7 separate regions of the Homo sapiens genome follow, and regions 1, 2, 3, 4, 5 and 7 are each linked to region 6. The links are contacts of gene promoters, found by promoter capture Hi-C in blood cells and fetal thymus (Javierre and others, 2016). All regions are on one chromosome and are shown on one strand. Each heading gives the region's core, a stretch centred on a gene start or on the middle of the fragment in contact. The rest is flanking DNA. Distances are from core to core; before and after follow the strand shown.

Region 1 (3,710 bases), core at 477-2,976, 420 kb after region 6:
TTCAAGCAATTCTCCTGCCTCAGCCTCCCGAGTAGCTGGGATTACAGGCATGCGCCACCAAGCCCGGCTAATTTTGTATTTTTAGTAGAGACGGGGTTTCTCCACGTTGGTCAGGCTGGTCTCGAACTCCCGACCTCAGGTCATCCGCCCGGCTTGGCCTCCCAAAGAGCTGGGATTACTGGCGTGAGCCACTGCGCCTGGCCTTCTTCTTCTTCTTCTTTTTTTTTTTTGAGACTGATTCTGATTCTCACTCTGTCACCCAGGTTTGAGTGCAGTGGAGCAATCTCAGCTCACTGCAGCCTCCACCTTCTGGGCTCAAGCACTCCTTTTGCTTCAGCCTCCCAAGTAGCTAGGATTACAGGCACATGCCACCACGCTGGGCTGATTTTTGTATTTTTGGTAGAGACGGGATTTCCCCATGTTGGCCAGGCTGGTCTCCAACTCCTGGCCTCACGTGATCCGCCCGCCTCAGCCTCCCAAAGTGCTAGGATTACAGGCGTCAGCCACCACGCCTGGCCCTTATGAATTTTCTATAAGGCTAAAATCACTTTAAGATTAAAAATTACAAGACGAAAGTAATACAATTCTGATATATTCTATAACATGGCCGAAGGTTGAAGACACTATGCTAAGTGAAATAAGCCAGACACAGAAGGACAAATATTGTGATTCTACTTTTATGAAAAACCTAGAATAGTCAAATTCATGGAGGTTAAGACGGAAAGCCTCCATGTTAGAATGAACTAGAATACAGAAGAGAAGTTACTAGGGACTGTGGGGAGGAGAGAACGATGACTTAGTGTTTAATGGGTAAAGAGGTTATTTTTTATTTTAGAGACAGGGTCTTGCTCCATCACCCAGTCTGGAGTGCTCTGGTTTAATAATAGCTCAATGTAACCTTGAAGAATTTAAGTTTTGCCAGATGAAAAGAGTTCTGAAAATGGATAGTCATGATGGTTGCACAGCCAAGTGAATATACTTAATGCCACTGAACTGTATATTTAAAATTGGTCAAAATGGTATATTTTACGTTGTGTAGTATATTGTACCACATATACAAAAAAAGTAAATGAGGGTTCACAGTCCCAGGTTTATACTTTAACTACAATATCAGCATGTCTTCCCCAGAACTGATTACAAAATGCAGTTTCATTCTATAAAAACATTTAAGGAACAGCCTCCTTCCCTACCAGAGATCTTGTACCATCTTGCCAGTCGAAGTGAGAAACAGCCCATTTAAATAATAGCTATGGGCCAGGTGCGCTGGCTCATGCCTATAATCTCAGCACTTTGGGAGGCTGAGGCAGGTGGAGCACTTGAAGTCAGAAGTTTGAGACCACCCTGGCCAACATGGTGAAACCACATCTCTACTAAAAATACAAAAATTAGCTGGGCCTTGGGCCGGGTGCGGTGGCTTATGCCTGTAATCTCAGCACACTGGGAGGCTGAGATGGGTGGATCACCTGAGGTCAGGAGTTCGAGACCAGCCTGACCAACACGTAGAAACCCCGTCTCTACTAAAAATACAAAATTACCCGGGCGTGGTGGTGCATGCCTGTAATCCCAGCTACTTGGGAGGCTGAGGCAGGAGAATCGCTTAAACCCAGGAGACAGAGGTTGCGGTGAGGCAAGATCATGCCATTGCACTCCAGCCTGGGCAACAAGAGCTAAACTGCATCTCAAAAAATAAAAATAAAAAAATAAAAAAAATTAGCCAGGCGTGGTGGCATGCGCCTGTAATCCCAGCTACTCGGGAGGCTGAGGCAGGAGAATCGCTTGAACCCAAGAAGCGCAGGCTGCAGTGAGCTGAGATTGCACCACTGCACTCCAGTCTGGGCGACAGAGTGAGACTGTCTCAGAAAACGAAAATAAATAAGTAAATATAGTTATGAGCAGGCTCAGGAGGTAAACACTACAGTAATTAGACAACATCGAAGACTTCATGATAACACTTCCCAAGCATGTTTGGTGACCCGTGACCCTCAGGAACCAAGCATTTTGCAAGTTCTTCCCTTTCACACCCTTTGACCTCTGCAATGTGAACAGGAAAAATAAAGCCAAGTAAAATAGCTGACTTATACAGTCTTCATTCTGGCATGGACCTGGCCTGAAGTGGGTTCACTTCTCATTAAGGTTACTCATTGCTTTTTTACAGTATAAGCAATGGTAAAGTGTCTTTCATGCTTTAAGTGTCTGTAGTAATTTGTATGTAAGTGTCAAATACCAAGGCACAGTCAATCTTGTCTTATTTTTAAAAACTTAAAGTACCAAGTGAAAAACTCATTTCCATTTTCAAAGGCACAATTAAATTTCAGGCTTTTAATCTTTTAAAACCCTATATATATTTTTTTTTTTGAGATGGAGTCTTGCTCTCTTGCCCAGGCTGGAGTGCAGTGGTGTGATCTCGGCTCACTGCAACCTCCGCCTCCCAGGTTCAAGCGATTCTCCTTCCTGCCTCAGCCTCCCAAGTAGCTGGGACTGCAGGCGCATGCTGCCACGTCCGGCTAATTTTTTGTATTTTAGTAGAGATGGGGTTTCACCGGTGTTGCCCAGGCTGGTCTCGAACTCCTGAGCTCAGGCAATCCGCCTGCCTCGGCCTCCCAAAGTGCTAGGATTACAGGTGTGAGCCACCGCTCCCGGCCTTAAAACCCTATTAACCAGACTCTGTCTCTAATTGATTCTGGAGAAAATTGCAAACTTCATCTTCCTCAACTGTTGCCACATAGTCATCATTTCTTATAGAATAAGGCACTGATCCCATCTCAATCTAGTAACTTGACCTCAGTGTATCTTTTGAGGTTTCCCTTTTGCTATTCCTTCTGTAGCTGTCAAGTTAGACTCCCAAACTTTAGAATAAATCCCCAATAATTGCTCGGCCACAGAATGTACGCATTTTCAAAACTTTGCATATGCATTGATGAGTTGCTCTCTCACTAGCTGTGAACAAAAGGTCTCCTTTTCCCCAAACTAGTTGGTAAGGGTTTGTGATAAAGGAGGACTAAATATATATGTATATATATTTAGGGACAAGGTCTCACTCTGTCACCCAGGCTGGAGTGCAGTGGCATGATCATAGTTCATAACAGTCTCGAACTCCTGGGCTCAAACGATCTTCCTGTCTCTCTGCCACCTGAGTTTCTGGGATTACAGGCGTGAGCCAGTGCACCTGGCCTTCCTTCGATTTTTGAAATTCCCAAGCTACTCATTTTTTCTCTTCCTCTGAACGCCTGAGCACGTTCCTCTTTTATTCTTTGTTTACTTATTTTCACACCAGCAAGGTTAATACTTCACACATAGTGAGCCCTCAGGAATATTTGTCAATATTTGTCAAGTGAGAATATCACTATTTCAGCAACTTTTTTTATTAACTTAAAAAATAATGCCTATTGCTTTTTATGATGATAAAAGTAAGACAGTACCAGCTAATTGCAGAAAACTTGCAAAAGGCTAAAAACAGTGAAGAGCCATAATCCCACAACTTGGGCATAAGCATTATTTACATTTTGGCTGACAAATAGTCAAACTTTATCCAGCAGATGAAGCTGAATCCCAGAAGAGAGGCACAAAATTTTAATTTGTGTTTTGCTTTGTTTCTGTGAACATTCAAATAATGTCTGGAGTGGATGTAGGTTAGAATGTAAATCTATAGGCCCCAGATTAAATAAAAGAAGCCCTGAATGTAGCCGGGCATGGTGGCTCATGCCTGTAAT
Region 2 (3,711 bases), core at 620-3,119, 390 kb after region 6:
CCATGTGACCACAGAGGTAGTGATTAGAGTTATGCAGCTACAAGCCAAGCACTGCTTGTGACACCAGAAACTAAGAGAAAGGCATGCACAGATTCTCCCTAGAGCTTTTGAGAGAGCATGGCCCTACCAACGCATTAATTTCAGACTTCCAGCCTCCAGAAGTATGAGATGATAAATTCCTGTGTTCTGAAGCCACCCAGCTGTGATATTTTGCTATCACAACCCTGGGGAATAAAAACAGATGGGAACAGATGTACCCACCTGTCTTTGTGTCTATGACATAGTACAAAGGGCATAGGCTTTGGGGTCCAGCAGAAATGGAAATTAACCCCAACCCAGTCAATTCTTTCCTATGTGACTTTACACAGGGTAATTAGGGTAGCCGATTTCCTCAGCAACATGATAGAAATAAGATCTTCATAAGATACAGGCATGGTGGTGCATGCCTGTAATCCCAGCTATTCAGGAGGCTGAGGCAGGAGGATAATTTGAGCCCATGAGTTAGAGACCAACCTGAGCAACATAGCAAGACTCCATCTCAAAAAAAAAAAAAAAAAAAAAAAAGATTGTTGAAGGCATCAATTGGTGATTGGTGAATATATGAAAGTTATGGGACACATAGTTTCTCAAAAAATACTAATTTACAACCTGTATATATGAGCTCATTTAAGTAGTCCGTTAATATTATTTTATGTGGTCAAGGAAATTAAAAGCTTTTTTTTCTTTTCAATAATTAAAAAAAAAATAGTATCTATAAATCTGAACTTCTAGTGACCTGGATGTTCAGTAACATTTTTGTCAGTAATGATAAAAAAATGAATTATTCATAGTTAATGGGAAATAGACAACCATTTTATTTATGTGCTCTACAGTTCTGTTCAGTCAAAGAAACTCTAGTCCCCTGGTTTAAAGAACACTCTGGAAAGGAAGTGTCCCACACAAGAGATGTGGTGGATGAAAACTCCCTATAAAAAGTTTATCCCTTTAATTATATGCTAAAAATATATATTTTTAGAAATAGTAAAATGATAGTCTTTCCAAGAGTACTGTAATGTGAATTATCCAACCTAATGACTCAGTTTAAAAGTCTGAATTATGTATTAGTCTCACTAGAAAGGGATAAAATTTGTCATTCAGTATGGGGGAATGACATATTATTTATGTGATCATCCTTCTGAGATCCCATTAAAATAATAGTAAAGAAATTAGGCTGGGCATGGTGGCTCATGCCTGTAATCCCAGCACTTTGGGAGGCCTAGGCGGGTGGATCACGAGGTCAGGAGATCGAGACCATCCTGGCTAACACGGTGAAACCCTGTCTCTACTAAAAATACAAAATAAAATTAGCTGGGCGTGGTGGTGGGTGCCTGTAGTCCCAGCTACTCGGGAGGCTGAGGCAGGAGAATGGCATGAACCCAGGAGGCGGAGCTTGCAATGAGCCAAGATCGCACCACTGCACTCCAGCCTGGGCAACAGAGCGAGATTCCGTCTCAAAAAAAAAAAAAGAAAAAAGAAATTAAAAGAGGCAGAATCTAAGGGCAAAGGTCAATTAAGAGAAAAGAAAGATCTAATGATGATCACCGATCATCATCAGTGATCTAAATCTTTCAATAAACTTCTAGAAGACAGAGCAGGAAGTGATAACTAGAGAAACACAGTGGAGGTAAAGGAACTCAAAATATGCCACTCAGGCTGGGCACAGTGGCTCACACCTGTAATCCCAGCACTTTGGGAGGCAGAGGCAGGTGGATCACCTGAGGTTGGGAGTTCAAGACCAGCCTGACCAACATGGACAAAACCCCGTCTCTACTAAAAATACAAAATTAGCTGGGCATGGTGGCGCATGCCTGTAATCCCAGCTACTCTGGAGGCTGAGGCAGGAGAATCGCTTGAACCCGGGAGGCAGAGGTTGCAGTGAGCTGAGATCACACCACTGCACTCCAGCCTGGGCGACAGAGTGAGACTCCATCTCAAAAAATATAAATAAATAAATAAATATGCCACTCTGGCAAATAGACTATTTTGAGTTAAGGGTCTTGAAAAAAACAGCAAGAACAAGATCACTCTGACCTTCCTACTGCTTATTAAAAGCAGATGATTAAATTCCTGTGTGACAAATGTTCTCCCTGTACCGGAAGGAAAATATCACTCTTATCATCATCAAGGACAAGAAGTTGAGGCCAAGGAAAATCTGTACCAACAAACCATGTTAGACTAATCCTTATCCTCCCAGCCACTTCTCTGTCCAATGAACCACCCTAGCTCAAGCTCCTTTGCCTTGTCACATTTTCACAATTTACTTTGCGTTGTCTACTTCAGTATCTCTGTGTTTATCTCTAACTGCCTCCTTGAGTCTCCATTCCTTTTTGAAGGCTCCCATGCCATGTAAAACTTGCATTAAATAAATGTGCATGCTTTTCTTCCACTGCTATAGCTTATGTCAATTTAAGTATCAGGCTCAGCCAAAAAACCCTAAAAGGGTAGAGATAAAAATTTTGCTTCCTCTATAAAGGGAATTTCAGCCAGAAGGATGCATGGAGAGACCATATCTGTGAAGGAAGCCAATCTGCCTGCAGGACCCAATGTGCACGGGCTCAGAAAATTCACTTCCCGCATTATCTTTTCTTTGCAAATTAATTGGCAATGTGCCTCAACAATACAAAAGAGTAAAGCAAGGAAAAGACACGAGGATCCAGGAAACAGTGGTTTCAAATGAGGTAAGTAATTAAGGGAAGTCCCTGGGTGATAGCTGTGTAGCAGATCAAGGCAGCAAGCAACAAAGGCCTTAGGAGGAAGTTATCTTGAGGAAAAAAGAGAGTTGAGTATTTTTCAAAATCTTACACTAACTTTGAGATTTTGTAATAATAGAAAGATACCAACAATACACAAATAAAAAGAAAGATAGGAGAACAAGTAGAAAGCCACCTTATTAGGATAATTTGACTGCAAGCAGCAGGAAAACCAAACCCAAAACGCTTAAAAATAAGACATTTACTATCTGACATAACAAGAGCTTCATAGGCAGGGAAGCTTCAGTTGACTGGTTAATTCAGTATCTGATTCTTCAAGTGCATAGGTTCTTTACATTTCTCTTTTGTTTTTTCTTTTTCTTTTTCTTTTGACAGTCCAGAGATCTTTTATCTTTTTAACACCTATGATGCCATGAATTCATGGGGAATAGGTTCCAGCAGCTCAGGCTGCTTCCCATTGGTTCTCACACAGTGTGCTTCTCTGGGTGGAGCAGGCTGGGGCTTCAGTTGAACCCAGGTGCCTTTCTCTTTGGCTTCTTTATTTTTCTGACCATTTTCCTTCACGCGTCTCAGGAAGCTATCTCAGCTCTTAGAGTGCTTAATATGCTCAATACGCACATTAATTCTTTTGGCAAGAATCTTGCCCTTGTTTGTTTATGCAATGCCAACAGCATGCTGGGGAACATTGTAGACTCTTCCAGTTTTGCCAAGGTAACACTTGTGGGGCATTCCTTTTTGGACAGTACCCATTCCCTTGATGTCTACAATGTCACCTTTCTTATAGATTTGCATATACGTGGCCAAAGGAACAACTCCATGTTTTCTAAAAGGCCCAGAGAACATATATCGGGTGCCTCTCCTCTTTCCTTTTGTGTTTGTCATTTTGACAAATTACTGGAAGATGGCGATTCCGGCCAAAAGGCTACATCTTTCTTTCTGCCATCTTCACTCATCCAAAGGC
Region 3 (4,135 bases), core at 401-2,900, 430 kb before region 6:
CCATCGTTAAGTCAGGGATTGTCTGTATATTCTTCTGTAGAGTTGTTTTTTTGCTTCCTGAAAACATTATAAATTTGTTTTTTTTAATATTAATGGATCTGTTTGAATCACATTATAATTTCTTAAAAATAACTAGGCACAAAAATTTGAAAATTTTAACTAAGTAAAAAATGGAAGGGGATTGGAATTAAATCATAACATGTTATATGTTATAGACGTAATGTTTCTTTTCCTCCTTTATGTCGTGGAATGAAGATATCAGTATTGGCAACATTATTTTAATGTAATTCTTTGTCAACACAAAACATAATAGGTTAAGTCTTAAGATATTGCACGTGGATAGGTTGTTTATTTTGTTTTGACCTTTTTCATTAGACATATTGCCCCTTAGCCCAGAGTCGCCACTTCCAAAAGTGGTTGAGATAAAGGAAACATTAAGATTATACATTAATACTTCCTAGCATACATAAAAAACTAGTCATCACATGGGCCACTTAGAAGAAAAACTATTCTCTGTTCTAATTCTAACCTTCATTCTTTGAAACTTTTGTCACAAAAGAAAAGTGGAAATAATTTCAGTCCCATCTTTTATGACTGCCTGGGATGTAGTTCAAAGATACATCAACTGACTAGTGTTGGCATCATTGCCTTTTTCTTTTTAACAAAAAATAAACATGCGCCTTTACTACTTCAACAATGATCCCAGTTGGAAAGGCTCCTAGAAAACCTTTGATCCCACCCTTGAGAAAATTATCCTCCCACATTGCAATATGTATATTGGGCTGCCTCTAATTACCCCTCAGTTTTCACCCAAGTACATTACAACATCTATTAAGTATTAAATGTCTTGCCAGACACAGTGGCTCACACCTGTAATTCTAGCACTTTGGGAGGCCGAGGTGGGCAGATTGCTTGAGCTCCAGAGTTCAAGACCAGCCTAAGCAACATGGCGAAACCCCATCTCTGCAAAAAGTACAAAAATTAGCTGGGTGTGGTGGTGCGTGCCTGTGGTCCCAGCTACTTGGGAGGCTGAGGCTGCAGGATCACTTGAGCCCAGGAGGTCAAGGCTACAGTGGGCCAAGATCATGTCACTGTACTGCAGCCTGAGTGACAAAGTGAGACCCTGTCTCAAAAAAAAAAGTGTTAAATGTCTTGACATCCATCCTAAAGGTTAAAAAATTATTCTTGCTCTCTGAGCTATTATAGCTATTATTTCAAATGACAATATATAGAGAAGCACATGGGAAACTATAAAGTACTCTTTGTAATTAAAGAAAGTTGTCAGAGTATCTGGCTTCACAAGTTTCCGATACTCAGCTTTGTGAGTCCACAAACTCGATATTTTTAAACCTATAAGATCAAAATTGACCAAGCTTAAGGAAACTGATTCAGTCTTAACCAAATTCACAGCAACTGATCTGAAGGAGAATGAAAATGTATTAATTTACCATCAGTGATACACCTTTCCAGTTACAGGAATACTCAGACTGCCTATTCAGGGTACTCACTTCAAGGTCACCTTAATAAGCAATGAATTAGCACAAAGGGAATTGGTTTGTCTTGAGGGATATTTACTTCATCTAAGGTATGGAAAATTCTGATCATCCATTCTTGCCTTCTCATAAAGTCTACATTCTCAGTGACCAAAACATCTCATGAATGCAAAATATAGTGTTATTTTCTCTTGGATAAATGTTAAGAATTCTAGTATTGTACTGTTTAGATTGCTACTCATCATGCAATTCATTTTTTAGCCTGAAGTTACAATGTAATTGTAGCCTTCATTAATTACATTTGGGTTTTTACAATTAGACCTTATCAATTCAATTGGACTTAGATGATCAGCAGTTTATTTAAATTTTTCATCAGGTGCTTTATTCCTAAAGATGATTAAGTTTGTGCATTTTATGTTGAATTACATTTATTAATAAGCTTCCCTGTTTGTTTGACCTTCTCAAAATTCTGAAGGTATGGCTGTTTTTAAATATTGCCTTTATCCAAATTTAAGTGTTATTTTATCCTCATTATTCATATTTAGAAGTAGCAGACTAAATAAGTCCATATAGCATAATTATATAGCCTAGGTTTTTGTCTCTTATTTATAGGTTCATCTGACTACTTAGTATTTCTGACTATTTTTTAAATTCAAATATAAATTTCCACCTAGAAAAGTGAAACAGACCAAATAGAGAATCATAACTTTGTTTCTAAAATCTGCTTAACCCCATAGTTGTTTTTGGACTACACCATAAAATGCTATGAGAGTTTTATGAGTGGTGCCGACAGCTTTGATGAGATGAATGCAGAGCTGCAGTCAAAACTGAGTAAGTGTTCTCGTTCTTAGGGTGCTTGCTTTTGGTCATTTCACTCTGCTCATGGAGTGGTAATTTATTTACCATATCCAGTGTTCATATGAGCTACTTACTTTAAATGTATCTGGATGCCTACTGATTTTTATCTTTGTGGTTTCTTTGGTGGAGAGAAGTTAAACAAAAAGAATACTAGTGTTGGAGCCAGACCTGAGCCATAACATCTTACTGTCTGTGGCGCCTTAATAAAATACTTGACCTCCTGACAAAGTGTAGCAGCAGTAGATGACAGTATAATAAAGTCATAATATACCAAACATGCTACCAGAAGCATAGACAATAATTAGCAAATGCTATTCCTCTTGGGGGATAATATCCCTACGTTGTCCTTGCTTACTATTTGAGAAATTAAAGCACCAATTAGTCAAAAGACCTAAGGTCTCTTTCAAAATTTGTGGCAAAAAGTTAACAAGACATTATACTTCCAAATATGTAAGGAAAATCTTTTTTTTTTTTTACTCATTTACAACCTAGTGACATACAGTATTTACTAGATAACTCTAAAACATTCCAGAGGTATTATTTTACATTTTCATTCTTTCTATTGAAATAGTCTTGTATATAAAATGCCAAAATGGAAGGTAAAATAGATAAATGGAGGTGAAGCTATTCCTCCAACAATGGAATCAATCACTTTGCCAGTATTATCACAAAAGCTGAAAGCATTCCCTTATAGTCCCCTGGGATTGTATCTTCCTGAAGAGTAACCAGGACAATTTCAGCTTGTTCACATGGGAAAGGGAGCAAAATAAATGGCTTTGTTTTAAGAGAGGAAAATTTAGAGTGATCTAAGCATCTAATGAGTAATTTGATATTTCTGTATATAATTAACCAAGCATAAAAACTGCATTCATTTATTCAAATAAATATTTTTTGTATACCTACTATGTGCCAGCCACCATTTAGGCACTGAGGATACAGTAATGAATAGGATAAAAACCTCTGCCCTTATGAGCTTACATTTTAGTAGACAGAAAGAGGAAAATAATGAAATGAGCAACTTTAAGTCAAATGGTGATAAGCGCTTTGGAGAAAAATCAAGCAGGACAAGGAGAGTCGAAGTACGGTGGAGTAATGGAAAGGGTTTGCTGTTTTACAAGGATGGGATGTACTTCACTAATAGTGTTTTGGGCAGAGACCAGAAGGAAGTGAGGGAGGGAGTAATGGTGAAAACTTGGGAAAGAATGTTCTAGGCGGATTTGAGGTCTTAAAAAGCTTTTGGATTTTGTCTCCAGAGGATTTATTTAATGTGGATGCTTTTAAGCTGGAATCATTAGAAGCAAAAAACAGAGCATTGAATGAACAGATTGCAAGATTGGAACAAGAAAGAGAAAAAGAACCGGTTAGTAAACATGTTTACACACTTACTTGAGAGCTCTTTTAGACTTTTGGGTGTCCTTGGATATTAGCTGTCTTTATCAAAATTTTAAAAAATAGATTAACAAATTAAGCTTCTTAAAAGTTAAATTTTCACCTAGAAACTCCCAATGAAAACATGTTTGGTATCTGTGGAGCCTTGTTTTCCCTTGCGGTCTATCAGTCTTAGACTAATGGTGCTCTGGATATGATGAAAGATTCTTACCTACTTACATAAGATCAAAAGTACTTTTGAACAAAGGCCCTGTGTTATATACCTCTAGGGAGCATTAGTCACAAGAAGCCCTGAGTTTTGGAGGTAGTGCAAAAGGAATGGTTAATAAATGGGTTTATATAGTATATTGTATCCTGAGTTTTCTAAAAGCTAAATATTAATATCCAGTTATCTA
Region 4 (3,964 bases), core at 793-3,292, 450 kb before region 6:
TCTCAAGAAAATATACAAATGGCCAACAAGCACATAAAAAGATGCTCAACATTACTAACCATTAGGTAAATACAAATCAAAACCACAATGAGATACTACTCCACACCTACTAGGATAGCTATTATCAAAAACAAAAGTGTCGGCAAGGATGTGGAGAAACTGGAGCCCTTGGGTATTGCTGGTAGGAATGTAAAATGATAGAACCACTGTGGAAGGCAGTATGGTGGTTCCTCCAAAAATTAATCACAGAATTACGATAAAATCCAGCAATTCCACTTCTGGGTATATATCCAAAAGAACTAAAAGCAAGAACTGGAATAGATATTTGTACACCTGTCTTCAGAGAAGCATTATTCACAACAGCCAAAAGGTAGAAACTACGCAAAAGTCCATAAACAAATGGATAAACAAAATGTAATATTTACATAAAATGGAATATTTTTCAGCCTTAAAAAGGAAAGAAATTCTGATATATGCTACATGGATGAACCTTGAAGACATAGTGAAATAAGCCAGATGCAAAAGGGCAAGTATTATGTGATTTAACTTACATGAGGTATAGGCAAATTCACAGAGACAGAAAGTAGAATACTAGTTACCAGGCAGCAGGGGAAGGGGGAGTGGGGAGTTACTATTTAATGTGTAGTTTCAGTTTGGATGTGGTAATGATGGCATGACACTCTGAATGTACTTAGTGCCACTAAATTGTACATCTAAAAATGGTTAAAACAGTAAATTTTATGATACGTATATTTTACCTATTTAAAAAAACCACAAATTACTAATAAAAGCAATGAAAAAGTTATCATCACCACAGATCCTACAGACATTAAAAGAAAGCATAAGATAACATGACTTCATGCTAACAAATTTGACAACTAGGATGAAATGAACACATTTCTGTTTTTTGTTTTTTATTTTTTCGAGAGGGAGTCTCTCTGTCACCCAGGCTAGAATGGAGTGGCATGATCTCGGCTTACCGCAACCTCCACCTCCCAGGTTCCAACAATTCTCCTCCCTCAGCGTCCCAAGTAGCTGGGGTTATAGGTGCCCACAACCACACCTGGCTAATTTTTTTATATTTTTAGTAGAAATGGGATTTCACCATGTTGGCCAGACTGGTCTCCAATTCCTAACATCAAGTGATCTGCCCACCTCGGCCTCCCCATAGTGCTGTGATTACAGGCATGAACCACCATGTCCAGCCTGAAATGAACACATTTCTTAGAAAATAAAACTTGTGAAAACTGACATCAATAGAAACAAAAAACCTGAAAATCCGGTTCTCTATTAAAAAACCTGATTTTGTTACTAAAAACCTTCCCCCATGACAATTAAAACACAACACATCGGAACGTACATGATGTTGCTAAAGCTGTGCCCAGAGAAAAAGTCTCATCATTAAATTCTTCTATCAATAAATAAAGAAAAAAGAAAAGAGGAAAAAAGTAAAGTTGCCAAAAAAGTATCCACCACAAAAAGCAACACACTGAGATGGTTACAAAGTGGGGGTTCTATCAAACTTTATCAAACTTTTAAAGAACAAATTATCCCAATTATTTTTCTATTGCTCCAGAAAATTGGAAAGTAAAAAGAAGGAAAACTTCTAGCTTCCAACACGAGAGGGCTAATAAGTTCTCCAGCGTGCAAACATCCTACATATTTACATATATAATTATATATAAGGCCGAAGAAGTAAATATATCAGACCAATCTCTCTTATGACTGTCCCAAATAAAACATTAGCAAATAAAATCCAGTAGAGGCCGGGCGCAGTGGCTCACGCCTATAATTCCAGCACTTTGGGAGGCCGAGGCGGGCAGATCATGAGGTCAGGAGATTGAGATCATCCTGGCTAACACAGTGAAACCCCGTGTCTACTAAAAAAATACAAAAAATTAGCTGGGCGTAGTGGCGGGCGCCTGTAATCCCAGCTACTCGGGAGGCTGAGGCAAGAGAATGGCATGAACCCAGGAGGCAGAGTTTGCAGTGAGCGGAGATGGGCCACTGCACTCCAGCCTGGGCGACAGAGCGAGACTCTGTCTCAAAAAAGAAAATCCAGTAGAACATTTTAAAAATAGTAACATCATGATCATTTGGAATATATTCTGCAAATGCAAGGATGGTTAATTGAGGAAGAATCATAGGAAAAATCTATTCAGTCTCCTTCAATAGGATCAATAGGTTCATGGAAAAAAATTTTTAAAAAAGAAAAAAAAAATCTGTTCAATCTCCATATATGCCTAACATGTTATTTCCAACTCAGTTGAAACCCAGTATTATGCTTAATGATGAAATTATCCCCCTTGTCAAGCACAAGACAAAGTAAATATGCTCACATATATTACTTATGTTTATTATGCACACAAATATTCTTTAATATTGTATTATAATTTCCACCCTACAGAATTAGAGAAGAAATCAGAAACATGATAATTGGAAAGGTATAAGTAAAATTACTACTATTTGAAAGAGTTCTATATCTGGAAAATCCAAGAGATACAACAACAAAAAATTACTACAACTTAACAAGAAACCTGCAAGGCCTTTATAAAGAAAATTTTACACAACGACAAAACAAAACGTGAGCAAATGGAAAAATACATTCATGTTTTGGGGCGGAATCACCAACATCTTAAAGATGTCAACACTGCCCTAATTTAATTTAGAAATTTAACTTGATGCCATAAAAATGGCAACAGGTTTTCTAACTAGATGTTATCATTGATCCTAAAATTTATATGGGGAAAGAAAACAAATTTATTAAAAAGAGGAGTGATGAGAAAAGGATGGGGATGGGCAGGACTGGCACTACCGGATAGTCAAACCTCTAAATCTGATTCAGCAAATATTCTGTCCTACTACTTTTTAAGAGTTTGATTCCATTCTGCAGCACATTTCATAATTTGTATTTATGATTAATACAAGTATTTAGCAATTAGAATATACATGAATTCAAGAAATTCTATTCTCTAATTTCATGTAAACTTTAAAGTGAAAGTAAATCTTATTAATTTTTTTATAGATATAAATACCCTGGATTTTCCTGGTATTTCTGCAGTTAACCTTGCAAGTGTCATTTCCAGAAAATAAGTGTATTTCCAAAATTAACAGATAAACTGCTCACATTGAGGGATTTAACATTTGTGTATTCAGCTGTCTTCAGAACATTTAAAACCCAATGTGTTTACGAAAACCACAATAAGATACCACTTTATATCCGTCAAAATGGCTATGATTAAAAAAAAGGGGGGCAGGGGCTGCATACAGTGGCTCTTGTCTGTATTCCCAGCACTTTGGGAGGCCAAGGCAGGAGGACTGCTTGAGCCCAGGAGTTCAAGACCAGCCTGGGCAACATAGTTAAGACCTTATCTCTACAAAAAAATAAAAAATTAGCTGAGCGTGGTGGCACATGCCTGTAGTCCCATCTACTCAGGAGGCTGAGGCAAGAGGATCACTTGAGCCCAAGAGTTCAAAGCCACGGTGAGCCATGACTGCACCACTGCACTCCAGCCTGGGCAACACGGTGAGACCCTGTCTCAAAAGAAAAAATGAAAGTTAAACATAAAAGCTAATCCAACAATTCCACTTCTGGGTATATACCTAAAAAAAGCAGGGACTCAAAACAGATACTTGTACACCAATGTTCACAGAAACATTATTCATAATAGCCAAAATGTGGAAACAACCCAAATGACCATGAACAAATAAATGAATAAACAAAATGTAGTATATACAAACAATGAAATATTATTCGCCCTTAAAAAGGAAATTCTGATAAATGCTACAACATGGATGAACCTTGAAGACATTATGCTAAATGAAATTAGCCAGATACAAAAAGATGAACATTGTATGATTCCACTTATATGAAATATCTACCATAGGCAAATTCACAGAGACAGTGAGTAGAATAAAGGATACCAGCAGCTGGGGGACGGGGGGATGGGGAGTTATTAAATAA
Region 5 (3,738 bases), core at 1,098-3,597, 380 kb before region 6:
TGGAAGCCATGTGTAGGCCCTGTAGCAAGAACTTCCACGCACAAAAACTGATCTAGTTACTGCTACTTGTAAATGTCCATATTCCCCAGCAGTAGGGACCAACACTGAGCCCCAGATACAGCACTGTCCTTTGAGGAAACCAACTGGCTATTTGGTGGCAGGTTGACTCATGAGGCCTCTTCCACTCTTGAAGGACCAGCACTTCATCCTCACAAGGATGGATTACTATTCTGAGTAAGGGTTTGCCTTTTCTGCCTGTAGAGCCCCAACCCTCACCATTACCTGGGGTTCATGGAATGCCTGGTCCACAAACATGGAATTCCATACACATAGCATTTGATTAGTGAAGGAAATACAGGAGTGAACCTATGACCATGGGATCCACTGGTCACATCATGTACTTGCCTTCTAGAATGTTGGAACAGACATCCAAAGGTGCAACTGAAATGCCATCTTCCAGGAAACTCTCTGAAGGAATCATTCCATAGGCTGCAACACGTGTATTAAATCAGAGACTCTTTATGGAGCTGTGTCCCCAGTAGGAAGGATATGTGGGAATGGGAACTGAGGAGTAGAACCAAAGTGGCTCCATTAGCATCACTCTGAATGACCCACTGGGGAATTTGTGCTTCCCATCCCCAAACATTGCCTTTTTTTGGCCAGGCGTGGTGGCTCACACCTGTAATCCCAGCACTTTGGGGGGCCGAGGTGGGAGAATCGTTTGAGCCCAGGAGTTCAAGACCAACCTGGGCAACATAGTGATATCCTGTCTCTACAAAAAATTTAAAAAAAATTATCACACCTGTAATCCCAGCACTTTGGGAGGCCAAGGCAGGTGGATCACAAGGTCAGGAGATCAAGACCATCCTGGCCAACATGGTGAAACCCCGTCTCTACTAACATTACAAAAATTAGCTGGGCATGGTGACGTGCACCTGTAGTCCCAGCTATTCGGGAGGCTGAGGCAGGAGAATCGCTTGAATCCGGGAGGCAGAGGTTGCAGTGAGCCGAGATCGTGCCTCTGCACTCCAGCCTGGCGACAGAGCAAGACTCCGTCTCAAAATTAATTAATTAATTAATTAAATTTAAATAAAATAAATAAGTAAAAATTAGCCAGGTATGACAGTACATGCCTGAGGTCTCATCTACTCCAGAGGATGAGGTAGGAGGATCGCTCGAGCCCAGGAGATTGAGGCTTTGAGGCTGCAGTGAGCCATGATCACACCACTGCACTCCGGCCTGGGTGACAGAGCGAGACCCTGTCTCAAAAAAAAAAAAAATTGTTTTAACTTAACACTTCTGTCTTTCTGTTCTCTATCTTACTAAATGTTTGCTTTTTTCTTTACTAACCCACTCCTTCTGCTTTGCTTCCATTTATTTTGTTGTTTTTCCCCCTAAATTTTGATTACATTCTTAATTCTTTTAAAAAAATAAGTATTTAAACCTATGAATTTTCCTCTGGTTTCTACTTTAGTAGCATATCACATTTTTTATGTGCTGTGTATTCATTTTCTACAGTTTCAGTTAGTGGTTTCTCTCTGCTGTAAGAACTGTTTAAAATAGTTTTGAATTTCCACATAGAAGGAATTCCCACCCCACACAACCCCCAAACTTTATGAATTCCTAGTTGTATTGCATTGTAATCACAGAATGCTGTCTTCACTATTCTGCTTGGACCTTGCTGAGGTTTTTCTTTATGGCCTAATAGTTTTAGTGAGTGTTCGTGGGCAATGGAAAGGAAAGCATATTCAGATTTCAGGATGTATACATTGGCATGTTATCAACCAGATCTATCTTATCAATTACTAAGTTCTTCTGTGATTTATTTATTTTTTATCTACTTGATCACTGACAGTCTGAGAAACAGAAAGGTTAAATATATCTACCCAGTTCTTCTAGCAAATGGCAAACTTCTCTAGTAAATGGCAAAATCCAAATTCAGGCAATCTGACTTCAGTTCTTAACTACTATACCATGCTGGCTTTCATCGGTATTTGTTAGATTTTTCTTCATATGTTGTCACTTGGGGTCAAACCATTCAGGAGAAAGGCAGATCTCCCAGGGAAACAACTTGAAATCAATAAAAAGGATTGTGAGGACATAGGAGTTAGCAAGATACTCAGGAAGTCAGTGATATGGTTTGGCTGTGTCCGCACTCAAGTCTCAACTTGAATTTTCTCTCCCAGAATTCCCACGTGTTGTGGAAGGGACCCAGGGGGAGGTTAATTGAATCATGGGGGCAGGTCTTTCCCGTGCTATTCTCCTGATAGTTAATAAGTCTCACAAGATCTGATGGGTTTATCAGGGGTTTCTGCTTTTGCTTCTTCCTCGTTTTCTCTTGCCACCACCATGTAAGAAGTGCCTTTCACCTCCCACCATGATCCTGAGGCCTCCCCAGCCATGTGGAACTGTAAGTCCAATTAAACCTCTTTTTCTTCCCAGTCTCGGATATGTCTTTATCAGCAGCATGAAAATGGACTAATACAGTAAATTGGTACCAATAGAGTGGGGCAGTGCTGAAAAGATACCCCAAAATGTGGAAGCAACTTTGGAACTGGGTAACAGACAGAAGTTGGAACCATTTGGAGGGCTCAGAAGAAGACAGAAAAATGTGGGAAAGTTTGGAACCTCCTAGAGACTTGTTGAATAGCTTTGATAAAAATGCCGATAGCGATATGGACAATAAGGTCCAGGCTGAGGTGGTCTCAGGTGGAGATGAGGAACTTGTTGGGAACTGGAGTGAAGGTGACTCTTGTTATGTTCTAGCAAAGAGACTGGCAGCATTTTGCCCCTGCCCTAGAGATTTGTGGAACTTTGAACTTAAGAAAGATGATTTATGATATCTGGCAGAAGAAATTTCTAAGCAGCAAAGCATTCAAGAGGTGACTTGAGTTCTGTTAAAGGCATTAAGTTTTATAAGGGAAGCAGAGCATAAAAGTTTGGAAAATTTGCAGCCTGACTATGCAATAGAAAAGAAAAACCCATTTTCTGGGGAAAAATGCAAGCCGGCTGCAGAAATTTGCGTAAGTAGTAAGGAGCCTAATGTTAATCCCTAAGACCATGGGGAAAATGTCTCCAGGCCATGTCAGAGAACTTCACGGCAGCCTCCCCCATCGTAGGCCCAGAGGCCCAAGAGGAAAAAGTGGTTTCGTGGGCTGGGTCCAGGGCCCACCTGCAGTGTGCAGTCTAGGGACTTGGTGCCCTGTTCCCAGCCACTCCAGCCATGGCTGAAAGGGGCCAACGTACAGCTTGGGCTGTGGCTTCAGAGGGTGGAAGTCCCACACCTTGGCAGCTTCTGCGTGGTGTTGAGCCTGCAGGTACACAGAAGTCAGGAATTGAGGTTTGGGAATCTCTGCCTAGATTATAGAAGATGTATGGAAACACCTGGATACCCAGGCATAGCATAGCCATAGCAAAGGCAGAAGTTTGCTACAGGGGTGGGGCCCTCATGGAGAACCTCTGCTAGGGCAATGCAGAAGGGAAATGTGGTGTCGGAGCCCCCACACAGAGTCCCTACTGAGGAACTGCCTAGTGGAGCTGTGAGAAGAGGGCCACCATCCTCCAGACCCCAGAATGGTAGATCCACCGACAGCTTGCACCATGCACCTGGAAAAGCTGCAGACACTCAACACTAGCCCATGAAAGCAGGTGGGAGGGAGGCTGTACCCTGCAAAGCCACAGGGGCAGAGCTGCCTAAGAGCATGGGAACCCACCTCTTGCATCAGTATGACCTGGATG
Region 6 (3,689 bases), core at 903-3,402:
CAAACTGCCTGCTGCGTCTACCTTCATTCAACAGACCTCGACCGAATCGCATCCCAAAGCCGGCTATGTGCTTGGAACTTACTGAGCAGCTATGGAGTTTGGCTTTCAGGAACTCTGGGTCCAGTCCTTAAAACCAAAAGTGCAATACAGGGCGATGAGAACTTCTATTGCTACATTCTCCTAGCAATAAAGAAGACAAAGCCCCAGCTGACTCTATTATTTGCTTCTTAACAGTGCTTTACTATAGTATTAAAGGGTTTTCAAACACTTCATTTCCAGCTTCTCTTAAGCATAATGCGTGCCTATTGACTCTCGACTGTGCCATCAAACGTTAAAACAGAACCTGTCGTTTCATTTCTAGCTTTCTATGGCTACCTCTATCAAAAGTTGGGCATGGAGATACCTTAAGTCTGGCTGGGGCGGTTGCTCACGCCTGTAATCCCAGCTCTTTGGGAGGCCGAGGGGGGCGGATCACCTGAGGTCGGCAGTTCGAGACCAGCCTGGCCAACATGGTGAAACCCCCGGTCTCTAATAAAAATACAAAAATTAGCTGAGTGTGGTGGCTCATGCCTGTAATCCCAGCTACTCGGGAGGCTGGGGCACAAGAATCGCTTTAACAGAGGAGGCAGAGATTGCAGTGATCGGAGATCGCGCAACTACACTCCAGCCTGGGCGACAGAGTGAGACTCTGTCTCGAAATAAAAGAGATACTTCAGTCTGACATACCACAATCAACTACAATGTAATTGGAGGGAAGAGCCGATGTTGGACGGCTATCACACGTGGCTTCACACTGTTCTTTTTCTTCTCTGGCTGGGTACGGCCTGAGGATGACTGCCCTCCAACAACTGAGGATGCTGCAGGAGGACCAGCCCAGCACCTGTCTCCATCCCCTGCACTGTGTGGCCGGCTCTGCCGCTTCTCCCCCGCTTCAGCATCACCTGCCACTTCTTCTCAATCTGAAGCCACTAAGAACGATCAACACCAGACCGTTAAAACATAAACCAGTATGGGCCACTAAATAATTCGTAAATATTTCAAAATGTATTTCAAAACCGACTTTGTATTGTCAAAACATTATAATCTAGCCAGGCCAAGTTTTAATAAACAGTAACACCCATCATCACTACTGGGTAAAGAACTTCATTCAACAGGACCTACCTTGACACCAAGTCTAGAGCCTCGTTTTCAATTAAAAAAAAAATGGGTAAGCCCCAAATGTGCATTAAAAATTAGTTTGGCCATTTACTAAGTAGTCCTTCAAAGCATTTCCAAGTATTCAGAGTTCCAGTACTTTTCGGAAAGGAAGGGTGATCTTTCTGGTACTGGTTTGCATAATTATGCCTAAAAAATGTCATCTTGAATTTTCAATGAAAAGAGTCTTAAAATGTTCAGGCGAGTGGAGAAAATGGTGATCCGCTGGCGTTAGAAGTGGACAGAGAGGCTCTCAGTACAAACTGTATCTGAACGTGTTCCTCACAAATTAAGATCTGCACCGGGGGCTGGGGGGCTTTGAGAAAACTAACCACATTTGAATCCGGTCCACACAGCTTGAAGGCGGAGGTACGGGGCAAAGCGCGGCGGGGAAGAAACACCAGCAACTCGGCGGCCCCCGCCTCGCCGCAGATCACGTGCCCGGCGCCCCCTCCCGCAGGGCCGGGGGCGGGATGGAGACGCGGCCTCCCGCGCGCCTTCCGCACTCCCCTCCGCGCCCCAAACCCAGGGGTAGGGGTGGTCTCGGGTAACCATCCCCAGGGCGGCGGCGAGGGAACTGCGCGGGTTCAGAGTCCTCAGCAGCCACCACTGACGCCCCGACGCCCCCGGCTCCCCGCGCACCCCGCCGGTCCGTCCTGCGGCGGCGGCGGTAGGGGCCGCGTCTACGTGGCGCGGTCGCGGCGAGGCGGGGACTGGGACGCGAGGACCGGGAAGCGGGGACCGCGGCGCGAGGAGGGGCGGCTCAACCCGCGCCGCCCCGGAGGGTCCCGGCCTCCGGCAGGACAGCCCCGGGCCCGCGCCAAGGGAAGCCCCCAGGCGCAGACACTCACCGCCAGCCCCGGAGGGACGCCTGCGAGGAGCCCGGCCCGCGCCCACTTACCCACAGGGGCTCCGCTCCCGGCCAGCGGGCGGCTGAGGGCAGGCGGCGGCTGGACTGCGACGGCTAGGACCCGCCGGGGAGGGAAGCCGAGGGGGCGGGGCCGGTCGGGGGCGCGCGCGGGGTCGGAGCGCCCGCAGCCGCCGCTGCCTTGGAAGCCGCCTGGGCCGCAGCTGAGTCGGGCGGCCCTCATGAATGGGACGCCGCGGCTGCGGCGGCCGAGCCGGCAGCTGGCGGGCGGGCAGCGCGCAGGCCCCGCCCCAGCCACGTGACGCGCGCTCCCGGCCGCGCGCCGCGCCCCCGCCGCCGAGCGCCAGGCGTGCGGCTTCTCACCGCTCCCAGTCCCTGGGCTGCGCGCCCGGGCCCCTGGCCAAGTGAGGGCGGGGCCTCGATTTTCTAGTGCCTCGGGCGACAGGAGCCTTACTTTGTTTTAAAAAAAAAAAGTTTCTTCCGGTCCCCATGGCAACCCTGCGGCAGGTCACGTGGGACTGAGAGCCCAATTGCCAAAAAGGAATGTTAAAGTGCAAAAAAAGTCTAGGGAATGAATGTTTTATAATCCCCTTTTGATCACTAGTAGCACATCTCCTTTGCTTACTTACATCTCCACCGAAAAAAAAAAAATCCTATTACACAACTCATTTTTAAAAATATGCCGGGGTTCTGTTGTTTTTTGTTTATTCTTTTTATCGCTCTGTTACCCCGGCTGGTCTCCAACTCCTGGGCTCAAGCATCCCCGCACCTCGGCCTCCCAAAGTACTGGAATTACAGGCATGAGCCACCGTCCCCAGCATTAAAATATACTTTTTAAGAAATGGGTGGCTCACGCCTGTAATCCTAGCACTTTGGAAGGCCGAGGCAGGCGGATCACTTGAGGTCAGGAGTTCAAGACCAGCCTGGCCAACATGGTGAAACCCCCGTCTCTACTAAAAATACAAAAAACCAGCCGGGCGTGGTGGCGCGTGCCTGTAATCCCAGCTTCTCAGGAGGCTGAGGCAGGAGAATCAGTTGAACCCGGGAGGCGGAGATTGCAGTGAGCCGAGATGGCGCTATTGCACTCCAGCCTGGCGACAGAGAGACTCCGTCTCAGAAAGAAAAGAAATGGGGCCCGGCGCGGTGGCTCACGCCGGTAATCCCAGCACTTTGGGAGGCCAAGGCGGGTCGATCGCCTGAGGTCAGGAGTTGGAGACTAGCCTGGCCAACGTGGCAAAACCCCGCCTCTACTAAAAATACAAAAATTAGCCGGGCATGTTGGCTGCAATCCCAGCTACTTAGGAGGCAGAGGCGGTAGAATCACTTGAACCCGGGGGGCGGAGGTTGCAGTGAGCAGAGATTGCGCCACTTCACTCCAGCCTGGGAGCGAAACTCTGTCTCAAAAAAAAAAAAAACAAAAAAAACTGGATTGCTGGTGCTATATACTATTGGTGCACACTGGTTTTTAATTTGCAGCCTATTCTATTACTATTCTATGATTGAAAGTAATGAACAGAAGCCTATGTTACTTCTATATAAATGGCAGTTAATTTATGAGGTGCATCTTGTGTGTGATCATTTATACAGTTCTAAGGGTACTGAAATAGGCATTTGCATACACAAAGCT
Region 7 (4,209 bases), core at 847-3,346, 400 kb before region 6:
ATGTACCTTATAATCCACCATAATCCCATCACTAGAAACAATGGTTAAAGTTTAGGGAGTGTCTTCCAGATATACAAACATATATTTTTTTAATGGTACCAAATTATACATAGTTTTTCATAATCTGTCTTTCTCAAGAAAAGATATCATGGATATCTTTTCATACAAATGTAGAGAGAGCAATCCTTCTATTGTGTTTTTATTTTACATATATACATAGTATATATATATATATATATATATATATATATATAACTTATTTAGCTAGCCCCTTATTAATTTTTTCCCTAAATTTTCAACTGACCAATAATGTTGCTGTGAATATCTTTGTATATCTTTATGTATTTTTCCATTCCTTCCCTTTGATAAATTTCTGAAGCATCGAATTAAAGTTTATATATATTTTAAAGCTTATATATATTTTAAATTTTAATAAATATTTTCAAATTAAAAAATAATAAAATCACCTTTTTTTTTTGAGACAGTGTCTCGCTCTGTCGCTCAGGCTGGAATGCAATGGCACAGTCTCAGCTCACTGCAACCTCCACCTCCTGGGTTCAAGCGATTCTCATGTCTCAGCCTCATGAGTAACTGGGATTACAGGTGCATGCCACCATGCCCAACTAATTTTTGTATTTTTAGTAGAGATGGGGTTTCACCTCGCTGGCCAGGCTGGTCTCAAACCCTTGACTTCAAGTGATCCACCCACCTCAACCTCCCAAAGTGCTGGGATGACGGGCATGAGCCACCATGCCCAGCCGCATTTGTTTTTATAATACAGGATTCCCAAAGGAGCACTTTAAAGTCTCTTGCATGTAAAACAGTAAGCATCTTGAGAATACAAATGATGCAACCTGATTTTATTTAAGTGCTTTTTATAATTGTTTTAAATCCACCTAGAGTATACAGAATGTGAATATCAAGAAACCCATAACCGTGACTTTATCCTGATAGGAAGCAGAGGAAGAGGATGAAAAATGTGCCAGTGAGCTTGAGTCCTTGGAGAAACACAAGCACCTGCTAGAAAGTACTGTTAACCAGGGGCTCAGTGAAGCTATGAATGAATTAGATGCTGTTCAGCGGGAGTAAGTTTATCTCACCAAGATTTATACGTTTATTTTCAGATTATTAATTTAACAGTTCCATAAAATTAGATCTATTTTTATTTGCTTTAATTTATAGTATACAGCTATTTAGGATGGAAAGAATGGTATATAGAACTTAAGTACAACTGCTTATAACTCGAGAACTTTCCCTATCAACAGATACATTCTGTTAGTATTAGAGTTACTGTCCACCAAGAAATCATTAATCGTTAGATCTAGTTAATACATGGCTTTTAATCCCTGAAAACAACATAAAAAATTTTAAATCAATTCAAATAAATTTGGCTGTTAGTGAATTTTAATAAAATTCCACTAAGCTTTAATAAATTCCACTGAGCTCATGTTTTTATTTCCTAGAAATTATGTATATTATATAGTAAAATGTAATTATACTATAAATTATAGTCAGTCTACTATAACACAGCATATGCCTTCCAAATAGTTACCATGCTGTGCAAAATCATGCCATAAAAATCACAGGACCTACGGGAAAACTGATATTGAGGCACAGCACTAAAATTTCATCAGTAGTTAGGCTCAGTGGCACACACCTGTAGTCCCAGCTACTCATGAGGCCGAGACAGGAGAATCACTTGAGAAGTTCAAGAAGTTCAAGGCCATCCTGGGCACTATAGCAAGACTCCATCTCTAAAAAAATTAAAAACTCCATCAGTAACACATATAAACAAAAGATAAGAATCAAACAAAAATGTTAGCACAATGATACACATACTTAATGGCTAAGAAATACATAATGCTACAATAAATATGGGACCCTTCATAATAAAAAGACCTCTAGTTTGATTTGAGAAATGGGCATTCAGAAGGCTGCAGACTGAATTACTGTAAAGAGGTAGAAAGTGGGTTATCTGAAGTGGGATGGAAATTGCACCATCAGTACTGGATGCATGTGGCTCATTACATATGCAGTGCACTGAGTAGCTGCTGTACATTTGATGTGTGTGCTTAGATGTGTGTATTCTTTTGCATCTGGATTCAGCTGGGTGCGGTTTTCTGCATTCACCAGGTATTTCTCAGGAAAGAAACTGGCATAAGCAAACATGAAATTTGCCAGATTGCGCTCATATTTCCAAACAAACACAACAGAACTGCCTATATATTTTGTTGTATTTCTTAGAAGTACTTTATAATCAAATTATACGTTGTCAGGATCTCGTCCTTCTCAGTTTCCCTCACAATTTTTAAAACTTACATAGGAAAAATTTTAGCCACACTATATAATAACTACAACTACAAACAGTGGCATCCTTTCTTTAAATAATTTTCTGTCTCTGTGTATATAATGCTCTTGAGCAACTTATATAAAATCAATATACTGAACAGTTAATCCATAGGCTCCGTGTACATTTATGTAAAATATACATTTTTTAAGTCTTAAGTTGCCCTCAAATAACTGAAAAATTTTCTATTTTGAGATTGCAAGTACAAGCCTTGTGAAAGTCATTTCTCTTCACTTCTTTATTTGTAGGCCAAGGGGAGAAAACTCAGTTGAGGTTTATTTGGCCTGCAATTTTATTGGTTTTAATTTGAATTTGAATTCCTATAAGTAAGACTTCTACTCCCCCATTTGCAAATTTTTGTCTTGCCCAGAAAGCATTTGAGTTTACAATCCCTTTGGAGACTCAGTTACAACCCTTCGCTCCAAAGCTTTATATGTTAAAACATGGTGCTCTTTTGTTTTGTTGCTTGCAAAGGATCTTTGAAAATGTTTATATTTCTCTTTTAATTATTGATAGTGGGACCTCTACAAATTATACATATAGTATGCAGCACATAAATCAATCACAGTTTGGTTTTTTTGAATGTGGAAATGGGAAGTGAGCTAACTAGAACGGATGTATTAATTTTTTTCCTGGACAACTTAAACAAGAGTTTTTGTTCTACAGATACCAACTAGTTGTGCAAACCACGACTGAAGAAAGACGAAAAGTGGGAAATAACTTGCAACGTCTGTTAGAGATGGTTGCTACACATGTTGGGTCTGTAGAGGTAAGTATGTGATGGTCTTTCCTACGTTCTAAGAAAGGTTTTTAAAACTTTGATACATTTCTGCTTTCTTCCATATAAATTAAATGATGAATTTTATTTCTATTTAAAGTATGATCTGGCAAAAATTTATCAGAAGAATCTTGTCTAGTGATGTGGCAACGTGATGCAGGGGAACACTTGAGCATTTTTTTTTTTTTTTTTTTTGAGACGGAGTTTCACTCTCATCACCCAGGCTGGAGTCCAATGGCATGGTCTCAACTCACTGCAACCTCCACCTCCCAGGTTCAAATGATTCTCCTGTCTCAGCCTCCCAAGTACCTGGGATTACAGGAGCCTGCCACCACGCCCAGCTAATTTTTGTATTTTTAGTAGAGACAGGGTTTCATCTTGTTGGCCAGGCTGGTCTCAAACTCCTGACCTCAGGTGATTCACCTGCCTCGGCCTCCCAAAGTGCTGGGATTACAGGCGTGAGCCACCGCACCCAGCCCACTTGTGCATTTTATAAAGTAATCTATTGTATTTGCATAAACAACATATGATGTTATGTATTACACCAACAATGTATAATGATGCTATGCCAGGCCATGTTCTACATACTGAAAACATATTAGTACATTTGAAAACTTATCGTACATTTAGGATTTCATTAAGCTTAAGATGAAAGGGCATATCTTATGATGATCGTTATTCCTTTCTGTGATTTCATATAGGCACAAAGTAAAGTATTTCAAAAGTATGAGTTTTATTTACCTCATCCCCACTCTTCACACAGCTAAAGTTCACCAATAAAACTATCCCTCCAACCTGCTGCACAGAGCCCCAGAAGCTAAGATAAATTGCTGAACTATAAAATTCTTGGTTAATTTATTAGGTGATAATATATTTCCAGTTGAGTATGGTTTAAGAAAAAAATTCACTTTATCATATTAATAGACTTCCATTTATTGAAAACATGAGCATGTGATACCCTACTACCCATCCTCTCCCCTGAAAGACATTGAACTGCTGCTTTCTTGGTGCCAATGGTCTTCACTTTTTAGTGTGAAGAACTAAGAAAAGCATCCTAGATGCTATGTCAGAAAACGTGGGTTCT

What was found. Contacts are between HindIII fragments. The CHiCAGO score rates a contact against its expected background, and 5 or more counts as called.
Region 1: a contact is called between a fragment that was not itself captured here and the fragment with the promoter of LPIN2 in region 6, in 1 of 17 cell types (naive CD8 T cells). The highest score is 6.4, in naive CD8 T cells.
Region 2: a fragment that was not itself captured here is called in contact with the fragment with the promoter of LPIN2 in region 6 in 1 of 17 cell types (non-activated CD4 T cells); the score reaches 6.7 in non-activated CD4 T cells.
Region 3: a fragment that was not itself captured here is called in contact with the fragment with the promoter of LPIN2 in region 6 in 3 of 17 cell types (naive CD4 T cells, non-activated CD4 T cells and total CD8 T cells); the score reaches 8.3 in naive CD4 T cells.
Region 4: a contact is called between a fragment that was not itself captured here and the fragment with the promoter of LPIN2 in region 6, in 2 of 17 cell types (neutrophils and non-activated CD4 T cells). The highest score is 8.6, in neutrophils.
Region 5: a contact is called between a fragment that was not itself captured here and the fragment with the promoter of LPIN2 in region 6, in 3 of 17 cell types (non-activated CD4 T cells, monocytes and naive CD4 T cells). The highest score is 6.5, in non-activated CD4 T cells.
Region 7: a contact is called between a fragment that was not itself captured here and the fragment with the promoter of LPIN2 in region 6, in 2 of 17 cell types (non-activated CD4 T cells and neutrophils). The highest score is 7.6, in non-activated CD4 T cells.

What each region holds. Positions count from the first base shown.
Region 1 is chr18:3,432,856-3,436,565 of GRCh38, forward strand. It overlaps a transcript of TGIF1 not described here. Among named protein-coding and RNA genes, the nearest start is that of TGIF1, 15 kb to the right of the region's middle. RefSeq lists an enhancer at 919-1,419 and a silencer at 1,854-2,064. The HindIII fragment of the contact is 5,991 bases long and covers 1-3,710 here.
Region 2 is chr18:3,403,187-3,406,897 of GRCh38, forward strand. It overlaps the pseudogene RPL21P127. Among named protein-coding and RNA genes, the nearest start is that of TGIF1, 45 kb to the right of the region's middle. The HindIII fragment of the contact is 2,317 bases long and covers 712-3,028 here.
Region 3 is chr18:2,585,600-2,589,734 of GRCh38, forward strand. NDC80 (NDC80 kinetochore complex component) reads left to right here. Exons shown (of 17, transcript NM_006101.3): 8 at 2,231-2,324; 9 at 3,605-3,711. Among named protein-coding and RNA genes, the nearest start is that of NDC80, 16 kb to the left of the region's middle. RefSeq lists an enhancer at 3,535-4,135. The HindIII fragment of the contact is 559 bases long and covers 1,372-1,930 here.
Region 4 is chr18:2,558,832-2,562,795 of GRCh38, forward strand. All of the region lies in intron 3 of METTL4 (methyltransferase 4, N6-adenosine), which reads right to left. Among named protein-coding and RNA genes, the nearest start is that of METTL4, 11 kb to the right of the region's middle. The HindIII fragment of the contact is 4,359 bases long and covers 1-3,964 here.
Region 5 is chr18:2,629,889-2,633,626 of GRCh38, forward strand. No RefSeq gene overlaps it. Among named protein-coding and RNA genes, the nearest start is that of SMCHD1, 24 kb to the right of the region's middle. The HindIII fragment of the contact is 9,719 bases long and covers 1-3,738 here.
Region 6 is chr18:3,010,992-3,014,680 of GRCh38, forward strand. It overlaps LPIN2 (lipin 2), which reads right to left and starts at 2,153. Exons shown (of 20, transcript NM_001375808.2): 1 at 2,096-2,153. RefSeq lists a silencer at 1,594-2,543. The HindIII fragment of the contact is 8,581 bases long and covers 1-3,689 here.
Region 7 is chr18:2,607,746-2,611,954 of GRCh38, forward strand. NDC80 (NDC80 kinetochore complex component) reads left to right here. Exons shown (of 17, transcript NM_006101.3): 15 at 955-1,085; 16 at 3,014-3,116. Among named protein-coding and RNA genes, the nearest start is that of NDC80, 38 kb to the left of the region's middle. The HindIII fragment of the contact is 1,351 bases long and covers 1,422-2,772 here.